Regions from separate parts of the Homo sapiens genome. Here region 1 is linked to region 2. The links are contacts of gene promoters, found by promoter capture Hi-C in blood cells and fetal thymus (Javierre and others, 2016). All regions are on one chromosome and are shown on one strand. Each heading gives the region's core, a stretch centred on a gene start or on the middle of the fragment in contact. The rest is flanking DNA. Distances are from core to core; before and after follow the strand shown.

Region 1 (6,620 bases), core at 1,408-3,907, 520 kb after region 2:
ACATGCAAGATGGCCCACTGCGGTGGCTCATGCCTATAATCCTGGCACTTTGGGAGGCTGAGATGGGAGGACTGTTTAAGTCCAGGAGTGTGAGACCAGCCTAGGCAAGATGGCAAGACCTCATCTCTACAAAAAAATTAAAAAATTAGCTGAGTGCAGTGACACCCACCTGTAGTCTCACCTACTTGGGAAGCTGAGGTGGGAGAAATGCTTGGGACCCTCCTAGGCTCAAGAGAGGCTGCAGCAAGCTATGACTGTGCTACTGCACTCGAGCCTGGGTGACAGAGCAAGACCTTGTCTCTACAAAAAAAATTTAAAAATGAGCCAGGCATGATGGTGTACACCTGTAGTCCCAGCTACATGGGAGGATGAGGCTGAAGGACTGCTTGAGGCCAGAAGTTTGAGAACAACCTAGGCAATGTAGTGAGACCCTATATCTAAAAAAGTAAAAGAATTCATTACAGCTATTAATATTTCACTGTTATGGTATTTATTTATTTGTTTATTTGAGACAGGGTCTCGCTCTGTCACCCAGGCTCGAGTGTAGAGGCACAATCATGGCTCACTGCAACCTGGACCTCTTGGGCTCAAGCGATCCTCCCACTTCAGCCTCCTGAGTAGCTGCAGCTACAGGTGCATGACTCCACACCCAGCTAATTTTTTTAAATTTTTTTGTAGAAGTAAGGTCTTGCTATGATACTCCGGCTGGTCTCAAAATCCTGGACACAAGCAGTCCTCCTGCCTTAGCCTCCCAAAGTGCTGGGAGTACAGGTGTGAGCCACCCACCCAGCTGTGATGGTTTAATGAGAAGAATAAATGCAACATGCACCGAGTGTCCCACAGACGTCCTCTCTCCCAGGCAGGGAGACTCTTCAGTGAATGCACCATCTTTAAACTCTCATGGAAATGCAGCCTGATGAAAGGTATATGAGCAGAGCTGCAGAGCTGGCTGAAAATGGCTCCCCGGTGAGCTGTTCTCGTGAGCTGCTATCTGTGCCCAGACCACAGCCTAGCCAAATCCTGTGATCCAAGGCTGAAAATATCTCTGGATTTCCATGAAGCTCTCAGGGAGATAGGAAAGCTTAATCACAGCTGATTGGGACATGTGAATCATGCACAGGAACTTTCCAGCCAGATCCCTTGGGGACCAACCTGGCTCAGGCTCTCTACAAATTATCACAAAGAATCCCGGCTGGAATAGTTGGCAAATGGGGGTCCATTCATTCAACAACAGCTGGGGATTCCTGCATATAGGAGATAGGGGAAGGAGAGGCTGATCGCAAGGTAAGCTGCATCCCACATAACCTTTCTACAGCCATGCAAGGCAGGTATTTGTTGAATGGATGAATAAATGAATAAACTAAGTAGTGGTCAGAGAAAGAAAGAAAGAGGGAAGGAGGAAGGAGGGGAGAGAGAGAGAAGAAAGGAAGCAAAGAAGGCAGGCAGGCAGGCAGGCAGGAAGGATGGGGAGAGGAAGGGAGGGAGGGAGGAATTTGGCCTTTGCTTGCACCCTCTTCTGCTGTTGGACAGCTCTATTTTGAAGCTATTTTCTACACTGAACCAAAATGCTGACCCAATTCTCTGAATGCAGGAAGAGTCCAGCAGAAACAGAGCCATGGAAGTATGATGCAGGGGAAACAGGCCAAATCGACCTTGTCTTGAAGAGTCCGTGGGTTATGCTTGTGCACATCCACTTTCCAGCCAGGACAGCCAGGCGGTCCCCACCCAGGGCAGTGCTTGAGGTCACCCACAAGGCGCCTCCAGTTCTGCTCACCAGGATCAAGGTTCTCCAGAGTTCAACAGCCACAGGAGGGAACCTGGGAAAGGCCACCGGAAGGCACAAAGAATCTGCTCACTCCATGCTCCCTTGGGCGGCCCCTGCTGAGCTGCTTCTGCTGCTCCCTGCTTGCTCTCTGAACCCCACCTCTTGGGCATATCCAGTTACAGTCACAGGCTCTGCTATCACCTGGAATGCCCTGGGCCTCTCCTCAGCTCCTCTCCTTCCCTGCAGAGAGCTGGGGCTTAGGCCACTCAGATATCCAGGATCATTAATTCTGTGGCCCCTCCCTGACACCACTCCCATCTGATCCTGGCACCTCCATGCTCCATCTTCTTCTCAGAATCCTGTAACCCAAACATCCCAGCATTCCTGGTGAGAGGAAAAGGCACTTTCATTCTGCAGAACACTCGTCCTTCCCCATAAGGAGCTCCTCCAATACCACCGAGGCCAGCTCTCCTGAGCCAGCCAGTGCCTGCCTGCCCACTTGTCTCTTCTTTCTTTTAGTGACAGACAGCACCTGATTTCCTCCAAGAGGGAATCTTCTCTTTCTGAATCCAAGTGCCTTGGGTGGTGAGGTAGGTGGACCTCACATCTTAGCTCAGAGTCTCCCTGGCCATCAGGATCAGCCAACAGCAGGGCAGGTAGACCAAAATGAGCCAAGAGAGCCGGGCCCAGGATGTTTGCGGCAACCACTGGAGGAAGGCACCCTGTTTCTGCTGAGCCTTCAGAATAGGTCCTCTTGGGTTTTTCACCAGTCCCCCTCCTCCAATCTGCCTCCATTTCATACATTGGTGGATGAGGCCTTGAACAAAAGAGTAGAATCAGAGCTGGAAGGAGCCTTAGAAACTTCCTGGGTCAAGATGAGGGGAATGAGGGTTAGAGAAGAAAGGAACTTGCCAAGATCACAAAGTGAAAACCAGAACAAAAGCAGGGAGCTCCCAACTCCCTTTCCAGCACTTTTCCACTAGCAGTGTCATTGTTGTATGGTAAGGCTTCACCCATTCTCTCTCCATGTGGATAAATTCCAGTTTTATTCGCAGACAAGTCAGATCATGACAAGTCACATCACTCCATGATGTTTCTAAGGAGACTGTATATAACCTTTCACCCACTCTTTGTCACCACCTCTCCAGCTAGGAAAAAATTTAATTCAACAAAGAACTCCACCATCACCCTCACCCCAGATGCTGAAACTCTTTGACAGCATATTGATTTTCTGGGGTCCCTGAGCCAACATGGGAGTCTGCAGGCCCCAGTGAAGTCAGGTTTCTTGTCCCCTCCCCTGTGCACATGCAAACCTCCACACATTCAGTACAGGTGACCCTGCAGGTCCAACGAATGAGACATTGAATCACCACTGAGAGAGGCTCAGAGGAGGGAAACTCCACTGGGAAAGGAGGTCAGGCTGCCCTAGTTAAGCCACCTCCACTCCAGCAGGCCTTGCCTGGCTCCCTGCCTCGCCTCAACACCCTTCCACCCTGACTCTCCCAAAGTGGACCATGTCACCTCTTTCCAGGCCTAAAACCACATGAGTCAAGGGACAGGAGGGTTTGAGAGACTCTAGTCCAATAATTGAAGGCATTAAACCACACCTGAGGCCTTTTAATACAATTTTAAAATTATGCTTGGGCTGGTTACATATGAAACCCACTCCAGTCCTGTCCTGAGCACCAGGAAAACCCTAAGGCCTGTCTGAGTAGCAGCCCAGTTTCAGAGAGCTCTTCCAAGCTCTCCCCCACGGAATCAATAAGAGCTTGTTGCATGTTCTAGGAAAGTCGCATCACACCCTATGACTGCAAAAGAGACCCTGTCCTCTCTTCCACCCTAAGAATAAGAACCCACTTCTCCAGCCTCATCTTGTTCCTGACAAGACGGGCTTGGCCCATAGGCAAACTCAGAGACCTGGCTCTTCACCTTTCACAGGGCCTTCTCTGGCATCTTGGAGGACACCCTCCACTGTACTGGTTCTGGCTGCCTTGGCCACAGTCCAGTGTCCACTCCGAGGACATTTCTGTCCAAATGTGGTTCACATCGCCTGTTTAAACTCTCCCAGACACATTCAGACTTCACATGGACAGAAATGTCCACCCAACTATGATGAACCAGCTGGCTACACCCTTGGCCAGAGCCTGACCTGCCTTGACCATCGCTTCCCTGGCAGCTTCCCCAGCTGGGTCTCCAGACTGGGTTTCCAAAAGCCACATCCTGTGGTCACATATAGAAGTCTGGGAAAGACAGCACTTTCCAGAGAAGGTGATTTCAGCTGTCAAACCAACATTTCCTGGTTGGTTGGTTTTCCCCTTTTACATTCCTCCCAAATATTTAACTTTATAAGGTGTGTCCCTTAGGATTTCTATATGGAGTTTGCTAATTCAGGCAGGAGAATGGGGTAGCAGAAAGAGTCTTTCTGAGCCTATTTCAGCATCGCTGTTTTACAAGAACATCAAAGCTTACTGCCAGGAGAAAAAGACACTGTCTTTACACCTTAATTCTCTATCCTCTTCCTCCTTTTTTACATCTTTGATCACCAGCACTGAGAAAATTACTAATATCCTTCCAAAACAGCTGTACACTTCTCACTTTTAGCAACATCAAACTCACTCTTATCATAAGTGTTATTATAGGTGGAATTGTGTTCCCCGCTAAAATTAGTATGTTAAAGTCTTAATCCCCAGTACCCCAGAATGTGACTGTATTTGGGAGACAGGACTTTTAAAGAGATTGTTAAGCTTAAATGAGATCATATGGGTGAGCCCTAATTTAGTGACTGGTGTCCTCATAAGAAGAGGCAGAGACACAAAAGATTCGTGCACACAGAGGAGAGACCTACACTTAGGCTGGTTATAATTCTTGTGAGAATGCAAGAAGGTGGCCATCTCCAAATCAAGGAGAAGGGCCTTAGGGGACAACAAACCTGATGATATACTGATCTTGAATGCAATGGACTAAATGCTTACGCTCTCCCCAAATTCGTACGCTGAAATTCTAATCTCCCAGATGATGATATTAGGACATGGGGCCTTTAGGAGGTGATTAGGTACTGTTATAAAACAGATCCCAGATAGATAGCTAGTCCCTTCCACCATGTGAGGACACAGCTAGAAGGCAACATCTAGAAAGTAGGCCCTTGCCAGACATCAAGGTGCCTTGATCTTGGACTTCCCAGCCTCTAGAACTCTGACTGTATTAGTCTGTTCTCCCATTGTATAAACAAATACCTGAGACTGGGTAATTCACAAAGAAAAGAGGTTTAATTGGCTCACCATTCTGCAGGCTGTACAAAAAGCATGATGCTGATATCTGCTTGGCCTCTGAGGAGGCCTCAGGAAACTTACAATCATGGCGGAAGGTGAAGGGAAGCAGGTGTCTTACATGGCAGAAGCAGGAACTCTTAAGAGAGAGAGTGGGAAGGTACTACACACAACCAGATCTTGTGAGAACTCACTCACTATCACGAGAGCAGGACCAAGAGGATGGTACTAAACCATTCAGGCGAACCCACCCCCATGATCCAATCACCTCCCATCAGGGCCTGCCCCCAACATTGGGAATTACAATTGAACATGACATTTGGGTGAGGACACAGATCTAAACCATATCAGTGAGAAATGAATTTCTGTTACATAAAAGCTATTCGGTTTATTGTATTTTGTTATAGCAGCCCAAATGGATTAGGACACTGAATGCCCAGCCTCCAGAACTATGAGAAAATACATTTCTGTTATTTAAGTAACCCATTCTGTGGTATTTTGTTATGGCATCCTAGGCTGACCACAATAAACAACACACTCACTAATTCATCAGGCTTCTGCTGAAGGCCTACTATGGGCAAAGCACTGAGTTTAGCACTGTGGGCAGACACAAAAGCAAGTGGGAATACAACAGCTCACAATATGGTCAGGGAGAATGACAACACAAATATATCTGTCATAGAGCAGAATGCAAATATTTTGGTATAATGCTTCTATAACTCTTGTTTCAACAATGCAAATTTGTTCCAATGTGATTGACATATTAAGGAACAATCTGAGCATAATGTGAATGTTGTGTTTGCTTATCTGTAAGAAAAACTAGATGAACATAGAAAGGTTGTGCCTAGCTGAACCGGGCCACACGGAAATACACAAAATTCACATACCTCAGACATCAGTCAGCTCTCTCGGCCCACGGTGTGTTATTAGCCACACTCATCCACATTTGGAGTTAAAACTCTCCGTCTGATTTCACATGACTGTCCTCCTACCATTTCGCAATAACATACAAATGACCACACCTTCTGAGACCACCTCTTAAGCAAACTTTAGGTCATTTTCAAACTCAACTGCCATATGTGTGGTAAGATGTATACATTTCTTAACCACTTAATGTTAAAGCTGTGCTACCATTTATAATAGGTTTTTATTTTTGCTTTTATCTGACAAATTATTGAGTGTTGTTCTTCTAAACCACTTTTTCTCGATAAGCCCTATAGTTTTGAATTGCATGATTGTGTATACTGCAGTGATTTTTAGAAACATGTATGAGTAGAATTGACTATATTTAAACATTTCAATAAGGAACTAGATTTCAGGTAACTAAGGCCTGGGTAATGAATGTTTATGGTCAGGATCACAGAAAATCACATGCTTATTGGATAAACTTCAAACAGGGCATATGGATCTGGCTAATATATCAACGACAACCTCTAGTGGTAATGTATACTAATTGCAGGTAAAATACAGAAAAATGTGATGTAGTAAAAATGGATTTTTAAATGTTATCGAATGAATGAAGCTATCACACAGGCCAACTCACATATATTCCCTCACCTTTAGGCAGCTTTTTATGGCCTCCAGTTTCC
Region 2 (5,763 bases), core at 9-2,508:
CAGCTGGCCAAGGCCGCGGTGCCTTCCCCGCACCATCATGCCATCCACCGCCGCGGGCAGAGGGCACTGGGCTGCGGCGGCGGGAGCCCGGGCGGCGCGGGGTGGGCCCGAGGGCGAGAGAACGCGGAAGGCTCTTCGGGGCAAGGGGAGGGGCTGCAGCTTTCGGCCTCCTAGAGGGCTTGCAGGAACCATGAACCGGGGCAGAGCAAACTCACTGTCCGCGCTCCTCGTCGCCGGGCTGCCAGGAAAGTCCCTTCTGCTGGTTCGCCGCCGCCGCCGCCTTCTTGGGCATGGCCTGGCGCGGCCCTCGGAGCGGGGAGGGCGGGACGGGGAAGCTGGGAGTTGTCCTTCCTTCCTTCCTTTCTTTGAAATCAAAATCCTTTCCTCGGGGAGGAGCGCGGGAGGCAGCTCAGGCGGGCTGTGCTGTCAGCCGCCGCGCTCGAGGCCACCTCGGGCTCGGCGGCGCACGTGGGCTTCAGGCGCCGTGACCCCACCAGGCGGCACTTCCCCGCGACGGCGGCCGGGGCTGGCTCTCTGGGACGCGCGGCCGCCCCGGGCGCATCTCCTGCCTCCAGCTCTTGGGAAGCGGCGCCGGCGGCAGCGGGGCAGAGGGTGTGGCCGGCACTGTCGCGGCCGCGCCGAGTCAGAGTCGGGCGGGAGCCTGCACTGATTGCGCACAGCGGCCGCCCGGATCGCGCTCAAGCTCTCGCCCGCCCGCCACACGCCCGGGCGTGCCGAGCACCACGGCGGCCCCTTCCCGCCTCGCCGGTTCACAGAGCGCGGCCCGGCGCCGCGGCGGCACGCCCTCCCAGACCGCGCGCCCGGCGGCCCGGCGCTGGCTGTCTACGCAAGTCCATCCCTGTCGCCTCGTCTGGGGCCCGCAGCAGCTGAGCTCTCCCGAGGCCCCGGGCCCCGCGCATCGGACGCCCCTGCACGAGTCTCCCTGCCACCGGGCCAACTCAGAAGGTCCCCGCGGCGCTGCGGCAACCGGCCCGGGCCCCGGCTCCTGCCATTTTTGTCAACCGCCAACTTCCGAGCGAGCGGGCAGAAACTGAAAGGAAGGGCGGGGGCCGAAAGGCAGAGGGGAAAACACCCGCTTCCTCTCCGCGCGCGGCTTCACCTCGGAGCGCGGCCGTGGCTGCGCCGCCGCCCGCAGGGGCTGCCGGAGGCTTTTCCTGTTCCCGTCCGCGCCTCGCCCCCGGGCTCGCCGCCGCCGCCGCCTCGGCCGTAACCTCCCTGGAGCCTATAGAAATCTTTTGTGTGGCGTCACCGCCTTTCGTTTAAATCCCGCTTCCTCCTCTCGCCCTTCCTCCCGCCCCCTCCGCCGCTCCCGGATGCTTGCGCGATGCGCTGCTCCTCCCCCGGGAAGCTGGGTGGCTGCGGGGGACGCCGCCGCCCAACGCGGACGCTGCCGGCGTGGGGCCGGTGGTCCTGAACTCCCCCGTGGTCCTGGGCCGAGAGACTGGGGGAGCGGACAGGGGAAGGCCTGCTCCGGCCCGGGGGCTCTGCGCACACCCATGGGAGACCGGGGCGCAGCCGCCCGCGGGCCTTACGTAAGCTCTTAGCCGGACCAGGGGGCTCCACGCTTCCTCCCCGCCAAGAGAGCAAGTCTAAAAGGTGACCTGGCTTCTGGGCTGAAGGGAGGAGGACACTGGATTTCGGCCCCTGGTGATTTGCTGGGGCCGGTGGGTCGTCTCGGTCTGCGCGACTTCGCCCGGTTTTCCAACGCCCCCTGCCCTTTGTTGTGTTTGATCCACTTCCACGATGGGTTTCCGACCAGCAGTGCAGTGTAACGAAAAGAGGAAAAGAGCACTGGATGGGGAGTCCGAAGAGTGGTGCTAGATGCCTGCCCGTTCCTCCCTTGAAATACGCCTTATGCAGTGAGAGCGCGGGTTCTGAAGCAGATTTCCTAGGATCAGCCTTTCTCAAGCCATTTATGAGTTCCATGACATTGTTCAAGTTCTCTTTCCAAGTATCCGTCTTCTCTTCTAGAAATTAGAGATTGTGCACAGGCTGCTTGAGTACTTGGTTCCTAAACAGTAGCTGTTAGAATTATTATGAGCCCTGATCAGCGCACTTTGCCCTCTCATAACGTCTATTTATTCGTCTGTATAATGGAATAATAGTGGCTGCTGTTAAATGAATTAAATACGACGGCGTTTGGAGGGAAACATTACTACTCCAGTTTTACAGATAAGGAAACTGATGATCAGGTGCTTGAAGTGACTTCCGAAGATCAGGAAGACAGCATATGGCAGGGACAGGAACCCACGCCTACGCCCCAGCCTCTTTTTACCGAACCTTGTTCTTCAGGAAGTGGTTAAAACACCTGGGCTACTCCCAGCAAAACGCCAGTCACGCAGTCCTGAAACAGGTCCTCTAAGGTGCCCAGCCCAACACAGGCTGGGCGTGCTGAGCCAACAGAATGTTTGTTCCTCTGTCCCTTCCTAGAACCCCAAGTCACCTTTCTCCAGCCAGTTAAAAACGTTACTTTTAACTAGGATGACGTTTCAATTTATCGGCCATATCCAAGCATTTCTGAGAATGAACTGTGAGACATGCTATTAATAAATTAACCATGAACAGCAGGTTCAAACCTGGATGGATAGTCATCCTACTTATAACTGAAAGTATCCTTAAATATCTTTAGAATCCGGATGAGCCCACTTAGTTTGCAAACCGAGGTCAATAAAACTGACTTGAAATAGGAAGTAATTATGTAGGGTTAATTCCTTTTTTTCTTCTACAAGAGAAAAAAAAAACAGCTGGATAAGTCAAGGTTTTTCCATGGTGACCCAGGGATTGCACCTTAGTCCTTCTTAAGCTCCAAAAACTTATGAGAGGGGGCCGAAAGCGATGGCTCACACCTGTAATCCCAGCACTTTGGGAGGCCAAGGCAGGCGCATCACGAGGTCAGGAGATCAAGACCATCCTGGCTAACACAGTGAAACCCCGTCTCTACTAAAAATGCAAAAAATTAGCCGGGCATGGTGGCGGGCGCCTGTAGTCCCAGCTACTCGGGAGGCTGAGGCAGGAGAATGGCATGAACCCGGGAGGCGGAGCTTGCAGTGAGCGGAGATCGCGCCACTGCACTGCAGCCTGGGCGACAGAGGGAGACTCCGTCTCAAAAAAAAATAAATAAATAAATAAATAAAACTTATGAGAGGGAAGTCAGACTGTTCTGTGCCTAGTTTATTCTTGAGGCTGCTCTAAGATCAGATTTTTTTTCCAAAGCCACGTAGTGCCCCTGGGGGTCCCATTTTCCCTTTCTTCTACATATGCAGTCTGTTTTGTTGTTGATGGAAACCCACCCCGACAATGAGTTGTGTTACACACAGACTGTCCACTCTATTCAGTGAGGTTTGGTTTCATTTTTAAAACTGATAGCATTGTTTTCTCGGCCTTCCCTGCTTCATTTTTCAGATAGGGAAGCTCCTAAACTGATCCTCCCAGGCACTGCCTCCACCTTTCTTTAGGTTCACCTTTACTTTGTCCGATTGTTCAATCACTCCACAATCACTGGGCACCAGTCTTGTGCTAGGCACCAAAGTTACATAATTTGTAATATGAGGCCCCCACTCTTTAGAGTCCAGGGATAGGAGTAGATTCACAAGAAACAGCCACAATTTCACTATTGGCACAGTGAGAGCACAGAGTAAAAAACCTATAGCAGAGATAATCAGGCTTCACAGATACAATATTTGTAGGTAGGCAGGGCCATGTGGTTCTGTCTGACCAATGAAATGTAAGGGGAAGCTATGCAGGTTACTTCTAGGCTGAGACAATGAAAAGCCAATCTGTAATTCTCCACTCTCTTGCCCTCCTATAACTACCACGGAGACTGCATTCTAGTTGGTGGAGCCTCTGTAAGCTTAGGTGACCATGTGGAGCAGACCCTCTTGATCTGTAGTGGACATGCAATGTGAACACAAAGTAAATTATTGGTGTGTTAAGTCACAGAGATTTGAGGGTTGTCTGTTGCTGTTGCATATTTTTAGTCTAATTAGAGGATGGCTTGTTGGTGTCTGCCCTTAGAGTCACTCAAGCAATGGCTTTTTCTTTAGAAAACTCCACCTATTACCCCTTCTAACCCTCTCAAAATTAAAATAAATATAAATCAAAAGTATTTGCTGTGATCTGACCCCCAAATTCATATGTTAAAACTTAATCACCAGTGTCACAGTATTACAAGGTGAGCCTTTGGGAGATGGTTAAGTCATGAGGTGGAGCCCTCTTGAATGGGGTTAGTGGCCTTATAAAAGAGGTGTGAGAGAGTTGTTCACCTCTTTTGCCCTTTCATCATGGGAGGATGCAGCAACATAGAGGACGCATCATCTATGAGGAATGGGCCCCTGCTGGGGCCTTGATCTTCTACTTCCCAGCTCTAGAGCTGTGAGCAATAAATTTCTATTAGTTATAAATTACCCAGTCTAAGGTATTTTGTTATAGCAGCTCAAATGGACTAAGTATTTTTTTTTTTAATGGATGTTGAGTGAGAGAAGAAAGCGGAAAATGTGTGGACTGAGGATTGGCTGAGGGAAGGTAAATGGAGTGGATGAGAGGGAGCTGGTAAATGGCCTGGCCCCTAGAGAATGCATTCTCAATACTGGCTCAAGGCCTACACTGAAATAGGCATCTGATGAAAAGTAAGTGAACAAGTTGCAAAGAGAGAACTGAGGATTTGGGCAGGACAAGAGGAACTGACAGGTTGAGACAGGCAGGATTGGGGAAACATCTTTTACCTCGTCTCTTGCCTGTTTTAGAAGGTGCATCCACCACTTGGTATAAGAGAACATTATGGGCATTCTGTTTTGTTTTTATGTTTTAAATCGTGGTAAAATAGCATAATATCATCTTACCCATTGTTAAGTACATTATCGTGCAACCATCACCATCCTCTATCTCCAGAAATGTTTAATCTTGCCCAACTGAAACTCCATACCCATTAAGTAACTGCTCCCCACTCCCCCTTCCTCCAGTCCCTGGCAACCACCATTCTACTTTCTCTATGAATTTGACTACCCTAGGTACCTCATGTTAGTGGAACCATACAATATTTGTTATTTTGTGCCTGGCTTATTTCACTTAACATAATATCTTTTTTTTTTTTTTTTTTTTTTTTGAGACGAGGTCCGGCTCTGTCTCCCAGGCTAGAGCACAGTGGCGCGATCTCGGCTCACTGCAAGCTCCGCCTCTCGGGTTCATGCCATTCTCCTGCCTCAGCCTCCCGAGTAGCTGGGACTGCAGGCACCCACCACCACACGCAGCTAATTTTTTTTTGTATTTTTAGTAGAGACGGGGTTTCACTGTGTTAGCCAGGATGGTCTCGATCTCCTGACCTCGTGATGCGCCTGCCTTGGCCTCCCAAAGTGCTGGGATTACAGGCATGAGCCACGTGCCCAGCCTTAACATAATGTCTTTAAGATTCATTGATATTATAGCATACATGGGAATTTCCCTTCTTTTTTATGGGTGAACGGTATTCCATTGTAAGCACTCCGGATCTTTTCATTCTATCAAAAATTTATTTATTTATTTATTTAGTAGCGAGAAAGTCTCAGAGACACAGTCTCACTTTGATATCCAGACTGGTCTCACACCCTTGGCCTCAAGTGGTCCTCTCACCTTAGCCTCCCAAAGTGCTGAGATTACAGGTGTGAGCCTGTCTGGCCACTCTGGGTTTTGATACCCAACTTTCACACTACCCCACACTTTACAGACCAACAACCATGCTGTGTTTGGTCTGTAGTGCCACCTGTTGGT

What was found. The method cuts DNA at HindIII sites, captures the fragments that hold promoters and counts their contacts. A CHiCAGO score of 5 or more calls a contact.
Region 1: a contact is called between a fragment that was not itself captured here and the fragment with the promoter of TLNRD1 in region 2, in 1 of 17 cell types (monocytes). The highest score is 5.4, in monocytes.

The regions. Positions count from the first base shown.
Region 1 is chr15:80,475,601-80,482,220 of GRCh38, reverse strand. All of the region lies in intron 5 of ARNT2 (aryl hydrocarbon receptor nuclear translocator 2), which reads right to left. LOC124903537 (a long non-coding RNA gene) reads right to left here and starts at 2,276. Exons shown (of 2, transcript XR_007064731.1): 1 at 1-2,276. RefSeq lists enhancers at 498-1,416, 1,417-2,336. The HindIII fragment of the contact is 3,148 bases long and covers 1,084-4,231 here.
Region 2 is chr15:80,996,418-81,002,180 of GRCh38, reverse strand. It overlaps TLNRD1 (talin rod domain containing 1), which reads right to left and starts at 1,258. Exons shown (of 1, transcript NM_022566.3): 1 at 1-1,258. LOC128071545 reads right to left here and starts at 39. Exons shown (of 1, transcript NM_001414893.1): 1 at 1-39. The coding sequence starts at 39. MIR4514 (microRNA 4514) reads left to right here and starts at 4,708; the gene lies at 4,708-4,764. RefSeq lists silencers at 1-90, 441-900, 941-1,630 and an enhancer at 4,124-4,625. The HindIII fragment of the contact is 6,287 bases long and covers 1-3,873 here.